Regions from separate parts of the Homo sapiens genome. Here all the other regions are linked to region 3. The links are contacts of gene promoters, found by promoter capture Hi-C in blood cells and fetal thymus (Javierre and others, 2016). All regions are on one chromosome and are shown on one strand. The core of a region is centred on a gene start or on the middle of the fragment in contact, and the rest is flanking DNA. Distances in the headings are between cores, read along the strand shown. Region 1 overlaps RNF170 (ring finger protein 170). Region 2 overlaps AP3M2 (adaptor related protein complex 3 subunit mu 2). Region 3 holds the start of SMIM19 (small integral membrane protein 19). Region 4 has its middle 5.6 kb from the start of AP3M2.

Region 1 (3,137 bases), core at 478-2,977, 310 kb before region 3:
GTGAGGAACGCAGGACACCAACTTCCCTTTCATAGATACAATCCCCATGCTATTGATGAAAGTGTTTTTGAATGAAGTCATACAACAAATAACTGATCAAAGTGGCATTACACCAAAATTTCTTAGTAGGACTCCTGCATAGAATGTTTAGATAGACGTGAAAGTTGTTAAGAGGAACAGCAAGAGAGAAACTGGTTCTTTGGAAGTCTTTCGTGCTACATTATACCTCCATCAGAGTAAGACAGCTTAGGCACTCCTAAGAGGAAAGGTCTGTGGAGATGACATGAATCCGAATTCTACACTTCCAAATCAAATAGGTAAAAGGGTGGCATACATCACAGAAAAACATTTCAGCTGCAGTCACCAACTTGAAAAGCGAGTGAGTAGGAGTTTGTCACACTGCCATGTACCAGACTGGAAATGCATTTCCTACCAATTACACATTTGGTGTGGGGGAATGGTGATGTCATTTTTTGACAGGATTTTATTTTGTGTGCATGCATTCTGCTCCAAGTGTCACAATTCTGGTTACAATAATTATAATATTTGGAGTTACTACTAAGACTTTCCTGAAAGAGGTGTATTGTACCAAATTTTGTAACATAAAAAAATACTAAATGATCTTAAAGCTTCCTAAATTGTGAAAAGGGTATGTGCTAACATCTCAGAACTTTAGACCTGCTTGTTGTCATCTTTACCGATCTCTGATGATAAATGCAGAAGGGATCTGAGAGTTTTTAAAGCAAGTAGAGTCAATCAGAGTTTTGAACATCATAGTAATACTTCCGTGATTCAGAGTTAGATCATATAAATCAAAGTAACAATTTGGATTTTTTTTAAACAACAATATCATAACTGTCATAAAACAGATGGTCCAACCCCAGGAGCAGATAATAACTTGGGCAGCTCTGTGGGGAACAAGACGGGGAAAACAACTGTTCTAACTGCCCACTAGAACAGTGGTTTCAACTACTACAATTCTCAGTGTTTGAGAGGTACAAGGGAAGAAAGGACTATGTGGATCCCTTGTGGCTATGCAGATACCTACCTCACAGAGTTGTTGTAGAAGACTGGTGGTTTGGTTCAAACCTTGTGATTAAAGAGTTTGTCAAGCATTTTATTCTTTTGAATAAAAGCAACATATCTAAAACATTTTAAAGGTGTTATTTTTCTGTTTATTTAACAGTTGTTTGCTTTCAGAACTCCTGAAAGAGCATTCAGTATAATGGTTGCAACGGCTTTATCACTAATGGACATCCAATATCTCATCACATTTCTAATTAATTTTGTTAGGTTTTTTATTTTGTTTGTGTGTTTGTTTTTTGGTCAGAGACAGGGTCTCACTCTTGCCCAGGTTGGAGTGCAGTGTTACAATCATAGCTGACTGCAGCCTCGAATTCCTGGGCTCCAGTGATCCTCCTGTCTCAGCCTCCCAAGTAGCTGGGACTATAGATGTGTGCCATCACACCTGGCTAATTAAAAAAAAAAAAAAAAAAGTTTGTAGATACATGGTCTGGCTGTGTTGCCCAGGCTGGTCTAAAACTCCCAGGCTCAGCCTTCCAAAGTGCTGGGATTACAGGTGTGAACCACCATGCCCAGTGCTGAAAATTATTTTTCTATTAAGCAAATAAATTAATTTGCAGACCACAGTGAAAATTTAGTCACGGAGATGTTTTACAAAGAAAAATTCAACATTCAGTTCAATGCAACAAATTTTGTTTTAAATTATATGAAATTCTGCTGGACGCAGTGGCTCACACCTGTAATCCCAGCATTTTGGGAGGCCAAGGCGGGCAGATCACAAGGTCAGGAGTTTGAGACCAGCCTGGCCAACATAGTGAAACCCCGTCTCTACTAAAATACAAAAATTAGCCAGGTGTGGTGGCACGCACCTGTAGTCCCAGCTACTTGGGAGGCTGAGACAGGAGAATCGCTTGAACCTGGAAGGCAGAGGTTGCAGTGAGCTGAGATCATGCCATTGCACTCCAGCCTGGGTGACAGAGTGAGACTCCATCTCAAAAATTAAAAAAAAATAAATGAATAAATAAATTATATGTAATTCACCATACCAATGATAAGTTTACCACTTTGAAATAAGGAAATATAAGGATTATATTCAACAGGTAATAAAAGTATATATTTCATTTCCAAGTTATGGATCACTGGAAGACAGGAAACAAGAAAAGGGAACAAGGAAGAGAACTTGGCTGAGGGACACCACATTGACCAGTTTCATTCTAGATGGATTAATGATCATAGACACCAAGAGGGCACCCTGCTGGCAGGTGATCCTTGGGTGCTGCTTGAGTGGCTTGTGCCCCCAGCTTCTCTGAACTGTCTTAAACGTTCATTCTCTTCTGATATTCCTGCACCTCCCAGGTGACAACCTAGTTTTCCTAAACCACTTCTCCCCTGCCAAGGCCTTTACTTTGCTGGCAGAAATAGCTCCCTTCTTTTTATTAAAGGCCGTTTGACTCTCAGTAAAAGGAACCACCATCCATCCATTTAAATGCTCAAGCGAGGACAGTGTGGTGGCTCACACCTATCATCCCAGCACTTTGGGAGTCCGAGGCAGGAGGATCACTTGAGTCCAGGAGTTTGAGACCAGTCTGAGCAACATAGTGAGACCCCCGTCTCTACAAATAAAATTAGCCAGACGTGGTGGTGCATGCCTGTGGTCCTAGCTACTCCAGAGCTGAAGTGGGAGGATCACTTGGGCCCAGAAGTGAAGGCTGTGGTGAGCCTTGTGGGTTGCACCACTGCAGTCCAGCCTGAGTGACAGGAGATCCCATCTCAAAATGCTCAAGCCAGAGGTGCAAGCTTAATTCGGTGTTAATATCTGAATCCTTCTCTTGTTCTTTCTTTTTCTTTCTTTTTTTTTTTTTTTTGAGACGGAGTCTCACTCTGTCACCCAGGCTGGAGTGCAATGGCACAATCTCGGCTCACTGCAACCTCCGCTTCCTGGGCTCAAGCGATTCTCCTGCCTCAGTCTCCCGAGTAGCTGGGACTACAGATGCCCACCACCACACCCAACTAATTTTTCTATTTTTAGTAGAGACAGGGTTTCTACTAAACCCTGGCCAGGCTGGTCTGGAACTCCTGATCTCAGGTAATCCGCCAGTCCCGGCCTCCCAAAT
Region 2 (2,823 bases), core at 37-2,536, 370 kb after region 3:
AATGCTTCCTAAGTATTCTCACTAGACTAAGCCAAGAATATTTTATATGGTATAGAGCTTTATAGTTTATTGTTTTAAGATTGAAGAGCTTATACATCAAATGAATTCCAATCACTTAAATTGTATAAGGCCCGTTTGTACAGAAAAACAGAAACTTCATATAAAGCTAAAGTCATCTCCTTTCCACATCACAGAGTTTCTAAGGATTAAAAAAGAAAACACATGAAAAGAGCTTAAAACAGTGCCTGGAACATGGTAAATGCCCCCAAAGTGGTAACTGATGACTACCGTGCTAAGGTCGGCACAGACTATAGTGAACTGACCTGGAAAGGCCCAGTGGTTCCAAAATAGAAATAAGAGCAAACATGAAAGTCTTCTGAAAACAGAAGAAAGGAGTGGAAATTACACTTCAGTTATAGCTGAGAATGCACATGGATTCTCATACTGAAAACCTTGGGAACCTGAAATGAACAACCCTAAGATGATCCAAAAATGGCTAGTGAATACTTCCTTCTACCAATACTGTTTCTTTCTCAGTGTGTCTTAGGCACTTTTATTCAGGTCACTTATGCCAACTTCAAAGGAAGGATTGTAAATTTTCCCCAGAAACATGCCAGAAAAGATGTTACTAAAGATTGTTTATCAGGTAATGAAACTAAACCTTGTAAACAGGAAGCCCAGAAAGGCTTCCTGGTGCCTGCGCCATATGGCAGAAAGCCGTTTTTGTTCCCTTTGGAGCCTCTTGAGCTCTGGGTCACTTACCAGAAATGGCCAGCTGCTGGATCTTAAACTGCAGGTTAATTGTGGGGTTTTCATCTGGTTTGGAAGCTCCAGCCTGAAGACTCATGGTCCCCTTCAAACTTGGTAGCTTTTGTGGATTTATTTTTCCTACATCCCAAGACAGCATCTTCAAAGAAAATAAAAATGGAGAAGTGGTCTTTCCAAAAAATAGTTACAGCAGAATCCTGCATTTGAGGTGGCTGAGATCTAAACTCAGGGCACCTGTCCACAACATTATAAGCTGCCTCTGGGTATCTTTCCATTGAGAATCCTACGTGTTACTGTTAAGTTACCTGGCAGGAGAAAACAAGGTCCCTTTGACTCATCTCACCTTCCAAACAAGGTCTAGAGTCTACACAGAGAACCTGCAGACTGGTTTCTGCTTAACATCAGCAATTCAAGATGTCCTGCTCATCCCTACCTTTGTGACTGGGTCGAATGTGTGTGTCCCCTGTGATGGAGTAAGGCTCATGTTCAGGACCCCCTTGGGCATCTGGCTGGTGACAGTCACTCCCTCAATGGTCTTCCCCATCGTCTGCTTGGGTCCCACCGTTATTTCAAAGCGTCCAAGGGAACTACTGTCCCGGAAACTGATGTTATGTTTGACATACACTGGGATTGCAACCAGACTGGAAATGAGAGACAAAGAGTCATTTCATTCGTGCACTGGGAAAATGGTAGTTCTTCCTTTCACATGATGCTTTTTCTGCCCTGTGGGTAGCTTCTTCTCCCTTAACTATGTCCTTACTTTTTATCTGAAAAAATAAACAGAAAAAAACCCCAGTAATCTAATTTTTTCTTTTTGAAAAGCTACTGTCTAGTAACTAAATTAACTTTTCTAATGACTCTGAATAATACAAACAAAATCAAAAAGTACACTACTATGACAAAGGCATAATGTACAAAAATGTATTGTCATTATGTCTCCATGTTTTTAACTTGTAACATGTGACCAGTCATCATTTGCACTGGGGAGTATAATATTCATAGCTCATGGACCTTTTATAATTTCTTTCTTTTTTTTTTGAGATAGGGTCTGGCTCGGTCAGCCTGGTTGGAGTGCAGTGGCACGATCATAGCTCACTGCAGCCTCGACATACCAGGCTCAAGTGATCCTCCCACCACTGCCTCCTGAGTAGCTGGGACCACAGGCACACAACATCACACCCCGCTAATTTTTACTTTTTTTTTTTTTTTTTTTGTAGAGACAAGGTTTGGCCATGTTGCCCATGCTGGTCTCGAACTCCTGGGCTCAAGTGATCCTCTTGTCTCTATAATTTTTTTAGAATGCTTTCATCTGACATCATCTGGTCCTTACAAAAACCCCATAAGGTAGGGTAGGCTGTCATGATTTGACAGAAGAAAAGGATTCAGAGAAGTCACGGAATAACCCTGAAGTAATAACAGTTCCTAACATGTATTGAGTACTTCCTGTTTGCCAGTCACTATGCTAAATGGTTTCTATCCATTTAACTCCTACCGTGTTTAATCCTCCCAATAAGTATGAAGTAGATACTGCTACTGTAACTATGTAGTAGGTACTGATTTTATAGATGAATACTGATGTCCTTATACTTAACTGAGATTAAGTAACTTGCCCAAGGTTCTAAGTACTGAAGATGGGGTTTAAGTCCAGGGAGTCTGATTCCAGAGGCTTTGACCTCAAGCACTCAGATATTTTCCCAAATGATTCATTCCACATCACACGGGAAGGGACTGGTGGCTCTGAGGCCTCCTGACTCTCTTCTGTCTGCATACCTTATACTATACAAAACTGCTTCCAAAAGCCTTTAGATTCCAAATTAAAGAGAATGTTCAAGACCAAAAATCACTGCGTTTTATGCTTTTTCATAGCATAACTTAATGCTTCTTTTAGACCAGGGACATTGAACACAGTATGCCCAGATTCTGATTTGAGAAAATAATGTTCTTGTTTAGACACATAACAACAAAAATAACAGCAAACTTAATGAGCACTTCTTTGTGTTAAGCACTATTCAGATTCTCTTATTCAATCTTCAGAACAAGGCACTTTTATTATTT
Region 3 (3,293 bases), core at 429-2,928:
CCTCCCCGGCATGCCACAGTGTAACCAAGTGTACACACATACACCTGCTGCGTGCTTACTGCATACCACCACAGCCTTCCTCTGGAATCTAAAGCAAGACACCATTTTTCACATTTTCCTGTAATGTAATGCTTGAACTATTTCAGTAAGGAGAGGCTAGGATGGGCTGAATTAAGTCTCAAGTAAACAAGAGTATATAAACTTGCCAATATATTACAACTAGGGGTTGGTTTTAGATTGACAAACTTTTAGGATGAGAACTACTTTTTTTTTTTTTTTTACAAAAACAGGGTCTCACTCTGTCACCCAGGCTGGAGGGCAGTGGTGCGATCTCGGCTCACTGCAGCCTCGACGTCCCAGAATCGAGGGATTCTCCTGCCTCAGCCTCCCAAGTAGTTGGGAATACAGGCAAGTGCCACCATGCCTGGGTAATTCTTATTTTTTTTTTTTTAAAGACGGGGGTGGGGTGGGGGTCGTCTCACTATACTGCCCAGGCTGGTCTCAAAACTCCTGAGCTCAGGCAATCCGCCCGCCTCAGCCTCCCAAAGTGCTGGGATTACAGGCGTGAGCCACCGTGCCCAGCCGAGAACTACTTTTTCTAGGGACTAGGTCACTGTATCATAAGCTTTAAAATCTGTGTCGTGATTTTGGGTTCCTGATGTCACGTCTAGGTGATTCTAAAATTGACCACCGCTTGTCATCGTGCCTTGAATGTTATCATTTTTGTCTCTCACTTAGAACTTTGTTACTTTGATACAAATTCACATTGGAACCACTTAGTTCCTAGAGTCCCTTACAACAAAATCCTCTGCATCAAAAAATGGGATTTCTTTCTCTCATCCCTCTGAAACACTAAAGGCTTGGTATTCTGAAGCCAAAGGGTACATACAAGCTCACAGGCCTTCACCCAACATCCAGGAAAGCAATTCACAGGTGCTGGGCAGTCCACAGAGTCACTGAATTATCCCAACAACCCTGCTGGGCGGCACTAAAGCTCCATTTTACAGGAGAAGAAACTGGGGTGGCGGCGGTGGTTATATAACTTGTCCAAAGCCACACAGGCCTGGGCGTGGAGGCGCGGGGCTGTTATACACACGACTCCCAAACCTGAACTCTTCCAGTCTTGGCCCCGATCCTGCGAGACCTGCTCCTTCCGGAAGAAAGTCAAGTGGAGCAGGGAGAAAATGTAATCCTCTCCCAGGAAGCAGCCCGGGTCCCAGGGCGGCGAGGCTCTAGGGACGTTTCCGCCGCCCGCAGGCTGCGCGTGATTCAGCCTCAACCCTCCCGCCGAGCCCCCGCCGCCCCGGCAGATGGGCCGCCGCAACTGGCCCGTGTGCGCTTCCGGAAGCGGGCGACTCGCAGCTCCACGCGACGCCGAGGGGCTCCGCGCCGGGACCGGGCGGGTGCTCGGAGTTTCGGGGACCGCACGGGACCGAGGGCAGGCGGGCGGCCACCCCCCTTACCCCCGCGTCCGGGGCGGGGCGGGCGGCGCGGGGCGGGGCCGGGTGACGCGGCCCCGCCGGGGACCGGGAGAAGCGGGGACGCGGGGCCACTCACGCTGCCGGCTCCGGAGGCGGCACGCGGCCAGCGCTGCTCCGCTCCGGGGCTCTTTACCCCGGAGTCGGGGCCGGGCGCGCGGGAAACGGTTACCGAGCGGACCTGGACGCCCTCTGCCTTCGTCATTTCCTGCCGGCCGGTCGGTTTCCGGATGAAACGAGGAGCCAGGTCTTTTTTTTTTTTTTTTCCTTTCCCCTTTTCAGTTTTTTGAGCCGGAGAGACGCAGCGGCGGCCCCAGTGCCGCCCCCGGGCGCGTGAGTGGAGCCGGGCTCCTTTCCCCTACCGCGCCGCGACCCCCGCCCGGGCTGCGCGCGCCGCCTCCCGCGAGCCCCCGGCCCGACTCCCGGGCTCCCGCGGGTGGGGGCCAGGGCTGGTCGGCGCCGGCGGGGCTCGCGGCGGCGGCGGGTTGCGTCCCCCGCGCCTGCTGGCCCACGTGGACCTGGCCGTCGCTTGCCGTGCGGCGCCTTTGCGAAAACTCGACGGAAGTGGCAGGGACCGGGCATTACCTGCGAGTGCCGGGCGCCTCCTGCTCCGCTGTGCGCGCTTGGGGTGGGACTCGGCGGGGGAGGGGTCGTGTACATTGTCCCACCAGGCGCAATGTAGCCGGGCGGCGCAGAGGATTTCTTTTTTGGTCTTGAGAGCATAGAGTCCCTTTTCATATTCACGTGTACTCTTAAGAAAGCGTCTGTTCTCCAAACTGGCTTTCCATTCTCCCCGTCCTAAATGGTGCGTGGCTGACACCGTAGTGTTTTCAAAACTGGATATGGCCAGGATGCTATAGCATTGTCAGTGTAAGTCCCTTTTGGGTATTTTTATTTAATTGTGTAGTGACTTGACAGAAGTGTTTCCCAGCTTGACCTAAGTAATGAATTTGCATAGGATTTCAGCATCAGTATGGAAGTGATCAGATGTCAGTGGCTGGTGCCACCTTGCAGATAAATGGCCACTGGTCCACGTAGTTCGTCTTTACTATACATTTTGATTAAGTTCTCTAGGACCAGCTGACTGGTAATTATAAGTCACATGAAACCCTGCAGAGATGAGAGCTTACATTGAACACTTCTTAACAAGTTTTCTATTCTTTGTTTCATCTGTTACAATTAAACTCACCTTCGTCTAGGGTAAGACCATTACTTTACGCAATAACATACTAGCTTAATTTACGGTATTTATATGTATTTATATATATTGTATATACATAATCATACATATAATTCTATAACATTTAGTTTGACTCTAAAGTTGGAAAATCAGGAAAATAACAGGTGATGTTGAGTACTGATTGTTTGCCGGGCCTGTGCCAAATGGTGTGCATGCTTTATGTAACTTAATCTAAAAAAATTTGAATACGTGAGTTTGATTTCAGTGTGTCCAAATGTGAAACGTGTACATTATTGTTATTGTTTTGTTTTTTTTGAGACGGGGTTTTGCTCTCGTTCAGGCTGGAGTGCAATGGCACTGTCTTGGCTCACTGCAACCTCCGCCTCCCGGGTTCAAGCGATTCTCCTTCCTTAGCCTCCCAGGTAGCTGGGATTACAGGCGCCCGCCACCACGCCCAGCTAAGTTTTGTATTTTTAGTAGAGACGGAGTTTCACCATGTTGGCTAGGCTGGTCTCGAACTCCAGACCTCAGGTGTTCCGCCCGCCTCGGCCTCCCAAAGTGCTGGGATTACAGGCGTGAGCCACCGCGCCGGGCAAACGTGTGCATTAAATGCTTGTTTATGCCTTTGTAAAATA
Region 4 (3,243 bases), core at 384-2,883, 390 kb after region 3:
CCAAATTTAAGAGTTCACATAAGAGAGGAGGATCTGAAATCATTTAATCCCCCCAACTACTCTAAAATGAATTACCGTTGTGATCCCCTTTTCGTAGATGAGGAAGCTGCAAAGACAGCTTAAATAACTGCCCAAGGTCGAACAGCAAAGCTGTGATTCAAGGACGTTGGAAGATCTGAGCAGAATGGCTCAGATTCCACACTTCCTACCTCTAAGCCCAGGAACCCATTGAAGAAATGTGAAGCAGGAGAGTGGCACACTTTCAGATTTCCATTTCAGAAAGACTATGTGTGCAGGATGGACTGTAACAGGCTGAGCCTGGAGGCTGGGAGGTTATTTAGACAATTGCAGTAATCCCTAGGAGAGAGCTAGTGCCTGGAGCCATGAGGCAGGGATTAGAGAGAAGTGGACACCTTCCAGAGAAGATAGGGATTAGGGATTAATGGAATGTCAGTGGTGAGGCAGAGTAGGTTTCTGATTCGGGCAATGACATGGATGGAAGCATCATGTGTTGAGATGGGGATCACTGGAAGAGAGGCCCCTTGCGGGGAGGGCGCATGAATCCAGTATATAGCAATGCCTGGGGGCATGAACCAAGTTGACACTCAAGTGTTTGTTGAATTGAATCAAGTAACATAGAATCTGAGAGCTCATGTAATACTTTCCCATGACTTTAAGAGAGGCCACAGGAAATCATTGACAAATGATAAGTCAGTCTATTTTGTGCATAAAAATCTCTAGGGAAAGATTTCCTAAAGCTGCCACTCACAAACCATTCTAATGTTTAACAGCTCTCACTGCTGAGAAATTTTTCTACCATAAAAAGTTAATCCTAGCTATCAGGATTCACTGGGAACCATTTATTTATTTATTTATTTATATTTCATTTTTGGTCTGAGACAAGAGAGGCCTTGCCCACCCAGAAAGACATTTTTTTCAGAGCTGCAACATCATTTCTGCGTCTTTGCCACTTCCTCCCTGTTCACACGTATGCTCTCCTTGCAACACACCTCACTACCGGTCATGCACTGAAGCAATGGAATGCCTTCTCCTCATGCCTCCCTTCTCACGGAGCCCTCTACCTGGCACATGTTTGTCTTTTACTCATCCTATTTTGGAAATTCGCTCCAGCCCGCAAGGCCCAGCCATATGTTTCCTCCTCCACAAAGTCTGTTTGAAGCTTCTTGCCCCCACACTGGGAGTAATGTTTCCCTCCTCTGTGATCAAAGAGCATTTCCCAGCTCTTTCATGTAACCTACAGAGCGGGCACACTCTGCCATGCATCAACATGTGCATCTGCTGACCAAATCTGGATTCTAAGCTCTTTGGGAAACCACAGTGTGTCTCACAATGTCTAGTGAACAATCACCTATTAAACTAACAGTGATGGAGTGCTTACAACCTCCTGGACACTGCGGGTACAAAGATGCGGTACTCTATGTTACTTCAAGGAACATACAGTCAAGTGGAGGGGGGATTTAAAGTGTAGACTGCTCCCCTTATCAAAACCAGGCCGGGCGCCGTGGCTCACACCTGTAATCCCAGCACTTTGGGAGGCCAAGGCGGGTGGATCACCTGAAGTCAAGAGTTCGAGACCAGCCTGGCCAACATGGTGAAACCTTGTCTCTACTAAAAATAGAAAAAAAAAAAATTAGCCCAGTGTGGTGGCATGCACCTATAGTCCCAGCTACTCGGGGAGGCTGAGGCAGGAGAATCACTTGAACCCAGGAGGCAGAAGTTGCAGTGAGCCAAGATCACGCCACTGCACTCCAGCCTGGGCCACAGAGGGAGACTCCATCTCAAAAAAAAAAAAAAAAAAAAACCAGCTCCTTTAAGCCTGGCCATGAAAGGAGCCTGTCCATGTGGAGAGGAGAGACTGAACCTGACGCCCTACTCTAGAAAAAGAGATCCGCTTTCCCCTTAGGGACCTCTCACTGCTGGCTGCAGCTCCCACCACCATACTGGTTTTGGGAGGGTCAGTATCCCTTTAACTCTTCAATGGCATTTAAGACACACTATTTTTTGTTGTTTGTTTAATTTCCTATAGCAGAGCAGAGACCAGGATGGACATTTATCCAAAGCTTGTCTAAAGACTTGAAGATAGGCCGAGCACAGTGGCTCACGCCTGTAATCCCAACATTTTGGGAGACAGAGGTGGGCGGATCACTTGAGGTCAGGAGTTCGAGACCAGCCTGGCCAACCCATTTCTACTAAAAATACAAAAATTAGCTGGGCATGGTGGCGGCCACCTGTAATCCCAGCTACTCGGGAGGCCGAGGCATGAGAATGGCTTGAACCTGGAAGGCAGAGTTTGCAGTGAGCCAAGATCGTGCCATTGCACTCCAGCCTGGGTGATAGAACGAGACTCAGTCTCAAAAAAAAAAAAAAAAAAGACTTGAAGATAACAGAAAGGAAGTGAGCAGAAAGAGTAACATGCAACTAAAAATGTAGCTCACAAATGTGATCCAATCCGGGCATCTTAGATGTCTCTATGGGATGCACACCTGCTTCCAGGGGACAGGGATGCTGTGTACCTCCTCTCACCTAGGAGCCCCGGCAAGCCATCTGGAGTTCCTGAAATCCAAACCTTGTCTGACAAGGAGACAGCAGCCTCCCTCTCCTGGTGGCCTCAGGCTGGCCTCCTGGTTCCAGTCTCCTGAGGGACATAATTATTGCACCAAATGGTCCCTTCCCCAGATGATTAGCCACAAGAATATCCAATCATGAGGCCACACCCTCACCTCAGGGGCATGGCATTATTCTGTGGCTTGTTAGTAGACGCTCCGCGGTTCTTTCTCTGCACTCTCCCTAGATGGCTTCATGAGTGTAATACCCTTTTAATGATGACAGCTCTCGATGTATCTCCAACCTCAACTGTTTTCCCCAGCTTAGTAAACAATACCACCATCCATCCAGCTACTCAAACCCATGAGTCATCCTCAAGTCCTCCATTACCCTCATCCCCTCATGTAATCAGAAGCATACCCTGTGGATTCTATCTTCAATGTACATCAGGAATTCAGAATCTCTCCAATGCAATGTCATCACTTTAGTCCAGGCCACAATCACCACTTCCCTGAAAGATGATAACCGCTGCCATACTGGTCTCCCATTTCTACTCTCACCCCTCCAATCCATTTTCTATACAGCAGCAAAAGTGAGCTTTTAAAACTGTAAACAGTTATGTGCAGCTTGGAACCCATCAATGCATTCCCATGGCATTAAATCAAAAATGCCTTTACT

Evidence for each region. The method cuts DNA at HindIII sites, captures the fragments that hold promoters and counts their contacts. A CHiCAGO score of 5 or more calls a contact.
Region 1: a fragment that was not itself captured here is called in contact with the fragment with the promoter of SMIM19 in region 3 in 1 of 17 cell types (fetal thymus); the score reaches 5.3 in fetal thymus.
Region 2: a contact is called between a fragment that was not itself captured here and the fragment with the promoter of SMIM19 in region 3, in 2 of 17 cell types (fetal thymus and naive B cells). The highest score is 6.0, in fetal thymus.
Region 4: a fragment that was not itself captured here is called in contact with the fragment with the promoter of SMIM19 in region 3 in 1 of 17 cell types (fetal thymus); the score reaches 6.7 in fetal thymus.

What each region holds. Positions count from the first base shown.
Region 1 is chr8:42,851,316-42,854,452 of GRCh38, reverse strand. RNF170 (ring finger protein 170) reads left to right here. Exons shown (of 7, transcript NM_030954.4): 7 at 1-1,152. Among named protein-coding and RNA genes, the nearest start is that of THAP1, 9.6 kb to the right of the region's middle. The HindIII fragment of the contact is 2,191 bases long and covers 632-2,822 here.
Region 2 is chr8:42,165,750-42,168,572 of GRCh38, reverse strand. It overlaps AP3M2 (adaptor related protein complex 3 subunit mu 2), which reads right to left. Exons shown (of 9, transcript NM_006803.4): 7 at 1,202-1,409; 8 at 763-907. Among named protein-coding and RNA genes, the nearest start is that of AP3M2, 14 kb to the right of the region's middle. The HindIII fragment of the contact is 4,036 bases long and covers 1-2,823 here.
Region 3 is chr8:42,539,970-42,543,262 of GRCh38, reverse strand. SMIM19 (small integral membrane protein 19) reads right to left here and starts at 1,678. Exons shown (of 4, transcript NM_001135674.2): 1 at 890-1,678. It also overlaps a transcript of SLC20A2 not described here. RefSeq lists an enhancer at 1-97 and silencers at 1,258-1,677, 1,818-2,097. The HindIII fragment of the contact is 8,293 bases long and covers 628-3,293 here.
Region 4 is chr8:42,145,869-42,149,111 of GRCh38, reverse strand. No RefSeq gene overlaps it. Among named protein-coding and RNA genes, the nearest start is that of AP3M2, 5.6 kb to the left of the region's middle. The HindIII fragment of the contact is 901 bases long and covers 1,183-2,083 here.